2 separate regions of the Homo sapiens genome follow, and region 2 is linked to region 1. The links are contacts of gene promoters, found by promoter capture Hi-C in human tissues and cell types (Jung and others, 2019). All regions are on one chromosome and are shown on one strand. Each heading gives the region's core, a stretch centred on a gene start or on the middle of the fragment in contact. The rest is flanking DNA. Distances are from core to core; before and after follow the strand shown.

The links. Contacts are between HindIII fragments. The study calls those that stand out against the background at their distance.
Region 2: a fragment that was not itself captured here is called in contact with the fragment with the promoter of GSG1L in region 1 in 1 of the 25 tissues and cell types used here (aorta).

The regions. Positions count from the first base shown.
Region 1 is chr16:28,061,359-28,066,629 of GRCh38, forward strand. It overlaps GSG1L (GSG1 like), which reads right to left and starts at 2,356. Exons shown (of 7, transcript NM_001109763.2): 1 at 1,718-2,356. The coding sequence starts at 2,066. The HindIII fragment of the contact is 12,466 bases long and covers 1-5,271 here.
Region 2 is chr16:28,191,892-28,197,162 of GRCh38, forward strand. The region is part of intron 1 of XPO6 (exportin 6); the gene reads right to left. Among named protein-coding and RNA genes, the nearest start is that of XPO6, 17 kb to the right of the region's middle. RefSeq lists a silencer at 232-404 and an enhancer at 1,659-1,888. The HindIII fragment of the contact is 4,311 bases long and covers 110-4,420 here.

The DNA of each region.
Region 1 (5,271 bases), core at 1,106-3,605:
AACCAGAAGTGGGTCTGATGGGATGAAACCAATCAGGGGCAGGTCCATATTCAAACACCATGTATCTCTGACAAACGGCCAGCCTGGCTCAAGTCACAGAAAAGTTTGGTCAGCCACCCCCAGAAGAGAGACAGAGGAGGCAGCACCGCAGGAAGCCTCCGGTTCATCATCCCAACCCCATCCAGTATGCACCCGGCAAATGTTTATTGAAGACCTACTATGCGCTAGACATTACTGGGAGGCAGCAGTGAACAAGACCAACCGGGCTGGCCCTCACAGAGTGACATCCTATGGGGAGTGGGGACTATAAGCTAGTGACCAAAAACAGGCCCCAGAAAATGTCAGGGAGTGCCAAGTGTGGCAGGGAGATAAACGCAGTGGTGAGATCCAAAGATGGAGACCCTCCCTCCAACGGGGAGCTCACAAGGTTGTCCCTCCTCAGTATCCTGACATGGAAGGCAGGTGGGAGAGTCCCAGTGAAAGGAGCCCCTGAAGAAGGAGGTGGGGCGGGGAAGGGCATTCCAGACAGAGGATGCAGCCTGTGCAGAGGCCTGGAGCTTTTCACTGGGTTCGCTTCACAGCTTCCTCCCTCTGCCCTCTAAACCACTTAGGCCACTGGCTTATTTAGGGCAAACTAAGGGTGGAGGTCTGCTGTAACCCACCCTTGAGCACACACATATGTGTGGTGTCCACACTGAGGAGCTAGGCATGCAGGGAGGAGTTTTAACCTTGGAGAAAGAGGTCAATTCACTCAGGAGGGTGTCCATGCCTGGACACCCGCTCAGAGATACCACGTCTTTCGGGCCAGCTCTACCTGCTGTGTGGCACAACCAGCTGTCCGGCAGCTGTCCCCTGGGCCCTGCCACAGCCCGGCTGTCTGCCTCCAAAACACGCACTCCAGCCCAGGCTGCCTCTGGAGGGTAGAGGAGGGGGTCCAGGCAAAGGGGACAGTCTGATCTGCCTTCTGAAAAGTCAGTCCCCCACCGAACCTAATAGGAGCCTTGTGCTAAGCTAAGCCCTCCTGGACTCCTCGACCCGGAGTTTGCCCAGCTGTCCCCAGTTCCCTAGCCTGCCTCTCCCAGGAGGGGGCCAGGATACAGAGGGCTCCCTGGCGTCTGGCAATAGGGGTGCCTCTGGGCGGGTGCGGCTTTCCGGGAGCCCGCGGGACTCCCCCACTCCCCACTCCCGTCTGGGAGGTTCGGCGTGGGTTGGCGATGGGGGTGGAAGGCTCCCGGGTCTGTGGATCTGCGGCAGGAGGGGCGGCTGGTAGCAGGAGTCCCTGCATCACCCCCACCCCCAGGGGCGTTCCGGGGTGGGTGGGGGCATCTAGTGCCCCGCGAAAGGAAGAGGAGGAGGGGGCGAGCGTGGAGATGAGTTCAGGAGCGGAAAGCAGCGCGCGCCCCTCCGACCGGCAGCGGGGGTGGGCGCCTTCCCGGGGCGCGGGAGCGTCCCCAAAGCCGCGGGGCGTCCGCAGCGGGTAGGAGCTCTGCCTTGCACCTCTCCACGGCGGGGCGTCCCGCACGTCCCCCCATGCTGGTCCCCGGCCCCGGAACGGCGCGCGCCCCCTGCCCCGGAACGTCGCCCCTAGCCAGGCGGAGCGCTGGGAGCTGGGCCCAGGCGGCGGGAGGAGGGCGAACGGGTCCGGGGCTCGGGCCTCGATGGCCGCGCCGCCCCGGGGGAGCCGGAGCCGAGCTGGCCGCCGCCCGCGCGCACTCACCAAGCCCGCTGAGCTCCTCCTCGCACGAGTACCAGATGCCGGTGTGGAAATTCCTGAAGAGGAAGCGGTCGTCGCCGGTCTCCCAGCTGTAGAGCGCGCCGCCAGGGGGGCCGTTCCCCGAGGCGGTGGCGGCGGCGGCGGCGGCGGCGGGGGCGGCGGTGCCGTTGGCCGTGGCGTTGGCGCCCGAGTTGGGGCAGTTGGCGCGCCCGCCCTGGCCGCAGCCCGGCTTGGGGACCCGCTGCGTGCCCTGGCACCAGTGCGTGGTGAGGAAAGCGGTGGTGGCGAACAGCAGCGCCAGCAGGTTCAGGGCCACGGCCAGGAGCGCTCGGCCGCGGCGGCTAGTCTTCATGCCGCCCGCGCCGCCGGGACGGGACTGCACCGCCGGGGAGCTCCGCGCGCGAAGTTGGCAGCTGGCGCCCCGCGTCAGCGGCCGCTGCCCGCCGCGCCCCGGGGCTCGGGTGCCTGAGATCGGCGGCGGCGGACGCGGCGCGGGCCCATGCCCCCCCCAACCCCGGGGTGGGGGCGCGGCGCGGGGGGCGTGCGGGGCGGGCTGGCGGGGCGGGCGGCGGTGGAGGAGCGGCTACGGCGCGCCCGGAGCCCGGAGCGCGAGTGCACCTCGGCTAGGAGCCGCTGGCGCCTGGCAGCGGCCACGGCGCAGGGACGCGCGCCCCTCCGTGGGGAGACACCTGCAGGCGGCCGGCGACACTGTTCCGGAGCCCGCCCGCACGGGGAGAGGGGGCCGCCACGCCGGGCGCGGGCGGGGGCCTGGGAGTGGAGGGACGCCCCCGAAAGAAATCCGAGCCAGGGTGAGGGTCTGAGACGCAAGGAGAATCCCAGGCAAGGCGCTCCTGAGAAAAGATCCCCACGGCGGACGTGGGGCAACAAAACCCGCCGGGAGCGGGCATCTCATGAGACCCAGAGAGGCCCTGCCCCAGGAGACAAGGGCAGAGCCTGCTGGGGCTCCCCAAGAGGGACACGGACCAGCAGGACCCTGTCCCAGAAGGGGATCCCCAAAAGGACCCCCGCACCAGACCCTGAGAAAGGAGTTTTTCCAAAGGTTCTAAACAGCAGAGCCTGCAGGGCTTCCCACAGCCAGGGAGCTGCAAGACCCCCTGGATAAGACAACCCATGCTGGACTTGGAGTGGCAGAATCTGTCAGGAGGCGCCCCTCCTGGAGTATTGGGTTATAGGGTTTGAAACGTTTTTCTGTCTCCTGGGTGTCACCTCCAGCATCTGGGAAGAGCTCCCCTCCAAGGATGAAACTGTCATCTGGGCTCCCAACCATGGCATGCAACTGCAGGAAGAGTGGCAACAGGGTACCCCAGACAGCCCACTGCACCCACCTGAGATCCCAAACAGCAGAACCCTAGGAGGGCCCATGCCGGCCACAAAGTTATTGCAGCTACCAGGCAGTGGTGCCCTACAGGGGCTGCCAACCCTGCTCACATGCACACCATGTGAATGTGGGTAGAATCTTCAAGATTCGGGTGGGGGCAGGGTGGCCAAACATACTGACTTTGGGATCAAGCATATCTAGGGCTTGACCAGCTGTGTGGCTTTGAACAGGTCACTTACCCTCTCTGAGCCTCAATTTCCATAACTATAAAAAAGGGAGGACCCCCCCCCCTTCAAGGTATATCACAGTGGGCTGCTGTAATGAGATCATGGCTGCAAAAAGCATTTGGCACACAGTAGACTCAATTAATAATTCACTGTTACTGACATCTGAACCAAGATCAGTTGACCAAACTCAGACAAACCTCTTCAGGCTCTCCTGTGCAACGTGGAAACTGTGTGCAACCCCGTCCCCACCTCTGCTCTAAGATGACCACGCTCCCTGAACTCCCTTCGCGCTGCACAGCACTTACTGCCCAGATGCTCAGGGCGTGCAACAATTAATTGCATGTTGATTATAAGAGCTCATTTGAATTCTGCCCAAGCTGAGAACTGCTCCGACAACCCCCGGCTTGCCGAGTGGCAGGCCTTGCAGAATTCAAGGTTAACCGATTATGAATTGCCTTACTCCTGTGGGTGAGCCGGCACCCACTGTCAGCTGCTGCTAATCTGCCGGGGGGTAGGTGAGAGGAAAACGTTGTGGGCAACGTCCCTGGTAAGAGCAGGCACGAAGGATGGCCAAGGGTCTCCAAACTTGCTTTTAGAGCCCTTTTCTGGCACTGTGCAAGAGATTCTCAACTATTTTGAAAGAGAGGACCTCCATGTGATAATGGTGGCATTGAGAGTATTGGTTGACAGAGAAAATACATCATCGCCAAACAGCTGTAAAGAATCCAGTAGCATCTTTTTTTTTTTTTTTTTTTTGAGATGGAGTCTCACTCTGTCGCCCAGGCTGGAGTGCAGTGGTGCAATCTCAGCTCACTGCAACCTCCGCCTTCTGGGTTCAAGCGATTCTCATACTTCAGCCTCCCGAGTAGCTGGTATTACAGGCGCTTGCCACCACGCCTGGCTATTTTTCATATTTTTAGCAGAGACGGGGTTTCACCGTGTTGGTCAGGCTTGTCTCGAACTCCTGACCTCAAGTGATCTGCCCGCCTCGGCCTCCCAAAGTGCTGGGATTACAGGCATGAGCCACCGCACCCAGCCTCCAGTAGCACTTTTAAACTGGCATGCAGTATTCATCATGAGTGTCTGTGTACCAATGAAAACCAGCCCCTCGATGTGTGCTAAACAGGGTACTTCTTTGGACTCGAGGCTGTGGTTGGTGTGCATGTGAGCAGGGCTCGGTGACCTACAGCTGGGAACCCTGTCCTGCATGTTCAAAGCCAGGAGAGCCCAGGTGAGATATGTCTCAGGGACCACACTCTCTCAAGAAACACCTGAGGATGCACAGAGGGATTTGGAATTTCCATCTAAGATGCTCCTCCACTCACTGAGCCACCCACTGAATGCTCAGCACTGGGAAGAAAAGAGAACGTGAACAAAGTTCGTAAGAAAGAACATCACTCAGAACTTTGAGAGGCCGAGGCGGGCAGATCACCTGAGGTCAAGAGTTCAAGACCAGCCTGGCCAACATGGCGAAACCCTGTCTCTACTAAAAATACAAAAATTAGCCTGGTGTGGTGGCGCACAACTGTAATTCCAGCTACTCAGGAGGCTGAGGCAGGAGAATCCCTTGAACCCCGGGGGCAGAGGTTGCAGTGAGCTGAGATCGTGCCACTGCACTCCAGCCTGAGCGAGAGAGCGAGACTTTGTCTCAAAAAGAAAAAAAGAAAGAACACTGCAGAGTATGCAGGGGTGAAAGCCAGGGAGAGCAATTCAGCAGGGAGGGATCAAAGTGGGGATGGCTTCAAGGAGGGCCTCACTGAGAAGGGGACATTGGAGCAAGGATTTGAAGGAGATGTAGGGGCAAGCCATGAAGACATCCGGGGGAATGGAAGTTCCAGGCAGAGGGATGGCCAGTGCAAAAGCCTCGAGGCAGGAGCCTGTCTGGCCCTTTGGGGAAAAACTGAGAGCACAGTGTGGCTGCAGCTGAGTGAGCAAAGGGCAGAGGAGGAAAAAAAGGGGGCGGGAGGTGCTAGAGGAGGGGACAGATCACA
Region 2 (5,271 bases), core at 1,015-3,514, 130 kb after region 1:
CTATTTAAGAGCAAGTCTCTTGTAAAACCACCTTCATCCTGAATTATTCCCAGGTAGACTTGGCATTTTAAATAAGTTAACATAATGGCTGGGCGCGGTGGCTCACGCCTGTAATCCCAGCACTGTGGGAGGCTGAGGCAGGCAGATCACCTGAGGTCAGGAGTTCGAGACCAGCCTGGCCAACATGGTGAAACCCCATCTCTAATAAAAATACAAAAATTAGCCAGGAGTGGTGGTGGCGGACACCTGTAATCCCAGCTACTCAGGAGGCTGAGGCAGGAGAATCACTTGAACCCAGGTGGCAGAGACTGCAGTGAGCAGAGATCGGGCCACTGCACTCCAGCCTGGGTGACAGAGCAAGACTCCGTCTCAAAAAAAAAAAAAAAAAAAAAAGTTATAATATTATTTGACTTTGGTAAAAATCTCTAGACCACATTACTACTGGGAACTGGGGTAGCATAATCATCCCCTCCAGGTTCCACTCGGTTGCTATAAAGTCTCAAGAAACCAAGAGCAAACCAAAGTCTACCATCCTCTTTGTCAATGGCAAAGCTGCAATGCCTCGCCCTTCCCATTTCTAGTTGGCCTTGCCACCCGCCTCCAGACCTAGGGACAAAGAATGGTGCTAGCCACAAAAGGAAGGTAGGACACAGCTAAGGACAGGCTTCTCTTAAGGGTAAGCAGGGGAGAGAGTTCAAGCACAAAGCCAGGCAGTGTTCTGATGCAGTGACCTCACACTGGGTAGATGTGGACCAATGGAGTGAGGCTCTCCCTGGTGTACCAATCAGATAAATCACTCCTATGGAAAGGAAGAAATGAGAGGGTGGAGACAGGACCAGAAGAATGTGCCCCAATACTGCTCCCACCTGGTGTGCAGTCAAAACCCCCCTGAATGTAGGCTAAAGCAAGAATGAGGGGACACAGGAAGGTTACCCTCTACATAAGCAATGAGAAAACTAACAGGTTTGTTTTCTCTAATGGGAAACAGTGCTGCCACTGAGGGGTACAGGGCCAAGCATGGCAGGCAGAGAAAGTACCAGATTAGAGCCAGTCCTGGCTCTACTGAGTCTAGTCTGTGGCACTGTGGGCAAACCCCGCAAGCTCCTGGAGCATTCTTCATCTGTATTGGCTGATACAGTCATCTCTCCCTCACTGTAAGTTCTTCTTACGTAAACTCCATGTGTGGGTCTCCTTTTATAAAGGCAAAGTCCCCCTAAGTTGCCACCAGCTTGTCCCTCTGAATACACCTAGTGCCACCTTTATACTTTTTTAAAATTCATGTTCAGTCACGTTCCTCAAAGGCTCTCAAAATATCACTGCCAATTGCCAAAGGGTCCTTAAGTATCCCTGCAAATATAGATAATGTTGCCGGGGTGGCAGCTGCTGGGGGATCTCTGAGGGCACTGCATTACGCAGGAAGTGTGGGGGCGCTGCACAAGCAGAGATCTGTGTCGGGAGGAAGTGACTCTTCATGGCCAATAGGTTCTCAATGCTCCTCCCATCCCCGCAGATCATTACTAGCCACAAAGGGAGAAGACGCTGCAAAGCAACTCTCTAACCAGGGACTTTCATGTGCCCGGGTTCCACTAATAAACTAAAACTTGTACAATATAAAAAACTATATTGTAATACTGGAACTATACACAGTTCCATCCCTCCACCCCACTGGCGAGGCACTGGATTAGAAAGGCAAAACAGTGGTAGTGGTGACTGTGGTGGCAGTGAGCAGCAAGAAAGCAGATGGCGCCTTTCTGGAGGGAGTCGGTGCACAGGTGAAATGAAACAGGTACTCGGCCAATAACCTTGGCCTTGCTCACATCCCTGGAGAGAGAAGATGATAACTCTACATGGGGTTTTCCATGAGCCTTCAATCCCCGCACAGCAAGCACGCATCACCCGTCCCACGATTCTCAACCAATTTTGCTAGAAGTGACTCAGTCCGTCTCTCAGCTCTGCCCCTTCTACAGGCACCAGCCCAAAGCCAAGACTGACCAGAAATCCAACACCCTTCTTCTTCCTGGGCCCTTCCACCCCCAACAGGTGGCTGGGTACGCTTGTCCTGGGAAGGCCTTAGCATGAACTGAAGGGTGTGGGCTGTGGAATCAGGGCAGGTCGCATCTAATGATGACTTCCTGATTACTTATCTGCTTGCCCCTGAGCAAATTACCTAACCTCTCGGAGCTCAAGTTTCTTCACTTGCAAAATGAACTTTCAACAGTACTCCCCCTCACCAAGTAGCTATGGGAATGACATCAATGGATGTAAATCCCTTAGCACCCTCATCCATAAATGAGCAAAACTATTTCACTAGATATTTCACTGGTGAGTCAATGAGCTTAAAAAAAAAGGAACAAAATAAAAATCCTACATAAAAAATTAGCTAAATGCTCAAAAACATCCCAAGAATGCCAAATGCCTTTTCACTTTCATTTTTATATACAAATCACCTCTCACTGCTGCAAACGAAGAATGTAAGAATGAAAACGTGTCCCACAGGCCTCCATCTGTGTTCAGGACAGTAAGAGTTTGGGACTAGACTCATGATTCTAGCAGCAAACACTTTTTTTCTTTTTAAAGAAAGAAATATTGCATAGAACCCCACCATATAAAGCAGACTAAATGAGAAACTGCTTAATTAATAAGGGTAGAGGAGGGGGTCTCAAATGCCTGTCTGTACTCCCAAACCTAGTGTCTGTGACACCTCCAAGAATCCCTATGGGCCTACAGAGCACCAGAAAAGCCCTGCACTAAAGCCCTTCCCAGCTTTGTGATTCTGGTTCTAACAAGTCTAGAAAGTTTTTCGGGGGTAAAAAAAGATTGCTAAAAAGACTGGTCGTACATTCTCTCTCAAGTATCTTTCACCTGCAAGCCCCATCACCACTGCCGCCCAGGGTCTTTGCTACCTGACCACCAGGGGTGATTAAACCATTTCATCACCTGGCCCTAACCTAGCTGACTTACTGTCCCCACCTCACCATCCACAGCCACCCACCCACCCTCTGCCTCAGCCAAACCCAAACTCACCCTTTTCTCTCCACATAACAGTTCCATGTCTTCACACACACCATTTCCTCTATCTAGAATGCTCCTGACTCCTCGAAAAGGTCCCCAACTCTGTGAAGCCTAATGCAGTTCCCCCTTCCCCACCCTCAGAGCTCCTCACTCCTTGTGGGCTTCAACATGACACCGACCATAATGAACTGAAATTACATCTTTCACTCTCATACAGGGATGGCAAGACAACTGGTGCCACCTCAGTGGGGGCCAAGACAAGTCAGCAATATTTATCAAATTTCAAACACAAAGACAACCTCACCCAGCAATACACTTTTGGTGATTTTTCCTCCAAAGCTTAGGTGTAAAGGATCTTCATGTCAATGCCGTTTGTAAAACAAAAGAATGGGGACAACTTAAATTTCCATCAAGGCAGGATTGGTTAAATAAGGTACATCCACACTGTAGAACACCTACTAACTATGAAAAATAGTGAATAAGCTCTATACATATATGTATATGGAACCATGAAAACTACTCACCTAAAAACACATTTCCCCACACCCAAGGATCCCAGTCAAACATGGCCAGGCGTGGTGGCTCACACCTGTAATCCCAGCACTTTGAGAGGCTGAGGCGGGCGGACCACTTGAGGTCAGGAGTTAGAGACCAGCCTGGTCAACATGGTGAAACCTCGTCTTTACTAAAAATACAAAAATTAGCCAGGTGTGGTGGCGTGAGCCTGTAGTACCAGCTACTCGGGAGGTTGAGGCAGAAGAATTGCTTGAATCCAGGAGGCGGAGGTTGCAGTGAGCAGAGATCACGCCACTGCACTCCATCCTGGGTGACAGAGAGAGACTCGTCTCAAAAAGAAAAAGAAAGAGAGAAAATGTCAAACACTGAGAAAGAGATGCCTGGGGATCCTCTCTGCTTGTCCTTGTCATCCCAAATACCACTCTTGCTCTTAAGCAAAACTCCGCACATTTACTAAGGTCTTATGTACTAGACACTGTCACAAACATTCATTCTTTAGGCTGGTTATTTTTTTGATCACGGAAGAACTTGCACTTACCTGCAAGTTCTCCAATTTGCACTCCAAATCAAGGTAAATGCCTAGAAGTTTTCTGTTTATTCCACCATGGAATGTGCTGCCTGCCATTCACTGGCTTTCACTCTCTAAGCCCCATACTTTTCCTGTCTTTGTCTCTATTTTAGGTTCCATCCTACCCCAAGGTCTATAACCCTCTGTCCACTGGCAGTAACTATTGGTATAAACTATTTCTTCCTAGTGGCTGGGGCATGGGACATCCTGGCCAATTAAATATGCTGAATTTAAGACTGCTGCCACAGATGGATTTCTATTTTCAAAATACAGATTCAATTCAACTTTTACTTAATCTATGTCATCTTTTTATGCATTCGGAGATAAGGAAGGACCATATAGTGTATGATAATTTATATAAAATATCCAGAATAAGCAAATTCATGAGACAGGAATTAGATTTGTGGTCACCAGGGGCTGGGGCAAGGGAGAAAGGGGAATGACTGCTTAATGGGTACAGGTTTCCTCTGGAGTGATGAAAAAGTGTGAAACTAGAGTGGTGATTCTTACACAACATGGTGAATGCACTTAATGTCACCGAACTGCATACTTTAAAATGGTGACGTTTTATGTTATGTGTTGCCATAGTCTGGATGTGGTTTGTCTCCACCTAATCTCATGCCTAAATTTGATCCCCAATGTTGGAAGCAGGGCCTAATGAGAGGTGTTTGAGTCATGGGGGTAGATATCTGATAAAAAGATTAATGCCCTCCCTGGCAAGGAGTTCGGGGGGTGAGGGTAAGTAAATTCTCATTCTCCTAGTTCCTGAGAGCTGGCTGTTTGAAAGGGCCTGGCGCCTCTCCTCTCACTCTCATCCTTCCTCTCTTGCCCTGTGATCTCTGCACACAGATTCCCCTTCACCGTCCACCAGGAGTGGAAGTAGCCTGAGTCCCTTACCACATGCCCAATCTTGAACTTTTCAGCCACCAAAATTGGGAGCCAAATACACCTTTTCCCTTTACAAATTACCCAGCTTCAAATACTCCTTCAGCAACACAAAACAGACTAAAACATGTAGTATTTTAAGGCCAAGGCGGGCAGATCACTTCAGGTCAGGAGTTCAAGACCAGCCTAGCCAAAATGGTGAAACCCCGTCTCTACTAAAAATACAAAAATTAGCCGGGTGTGATGGCTAACACCTGTAATCCCAGCTACTCGGGAGGCTGAGGCAGGAG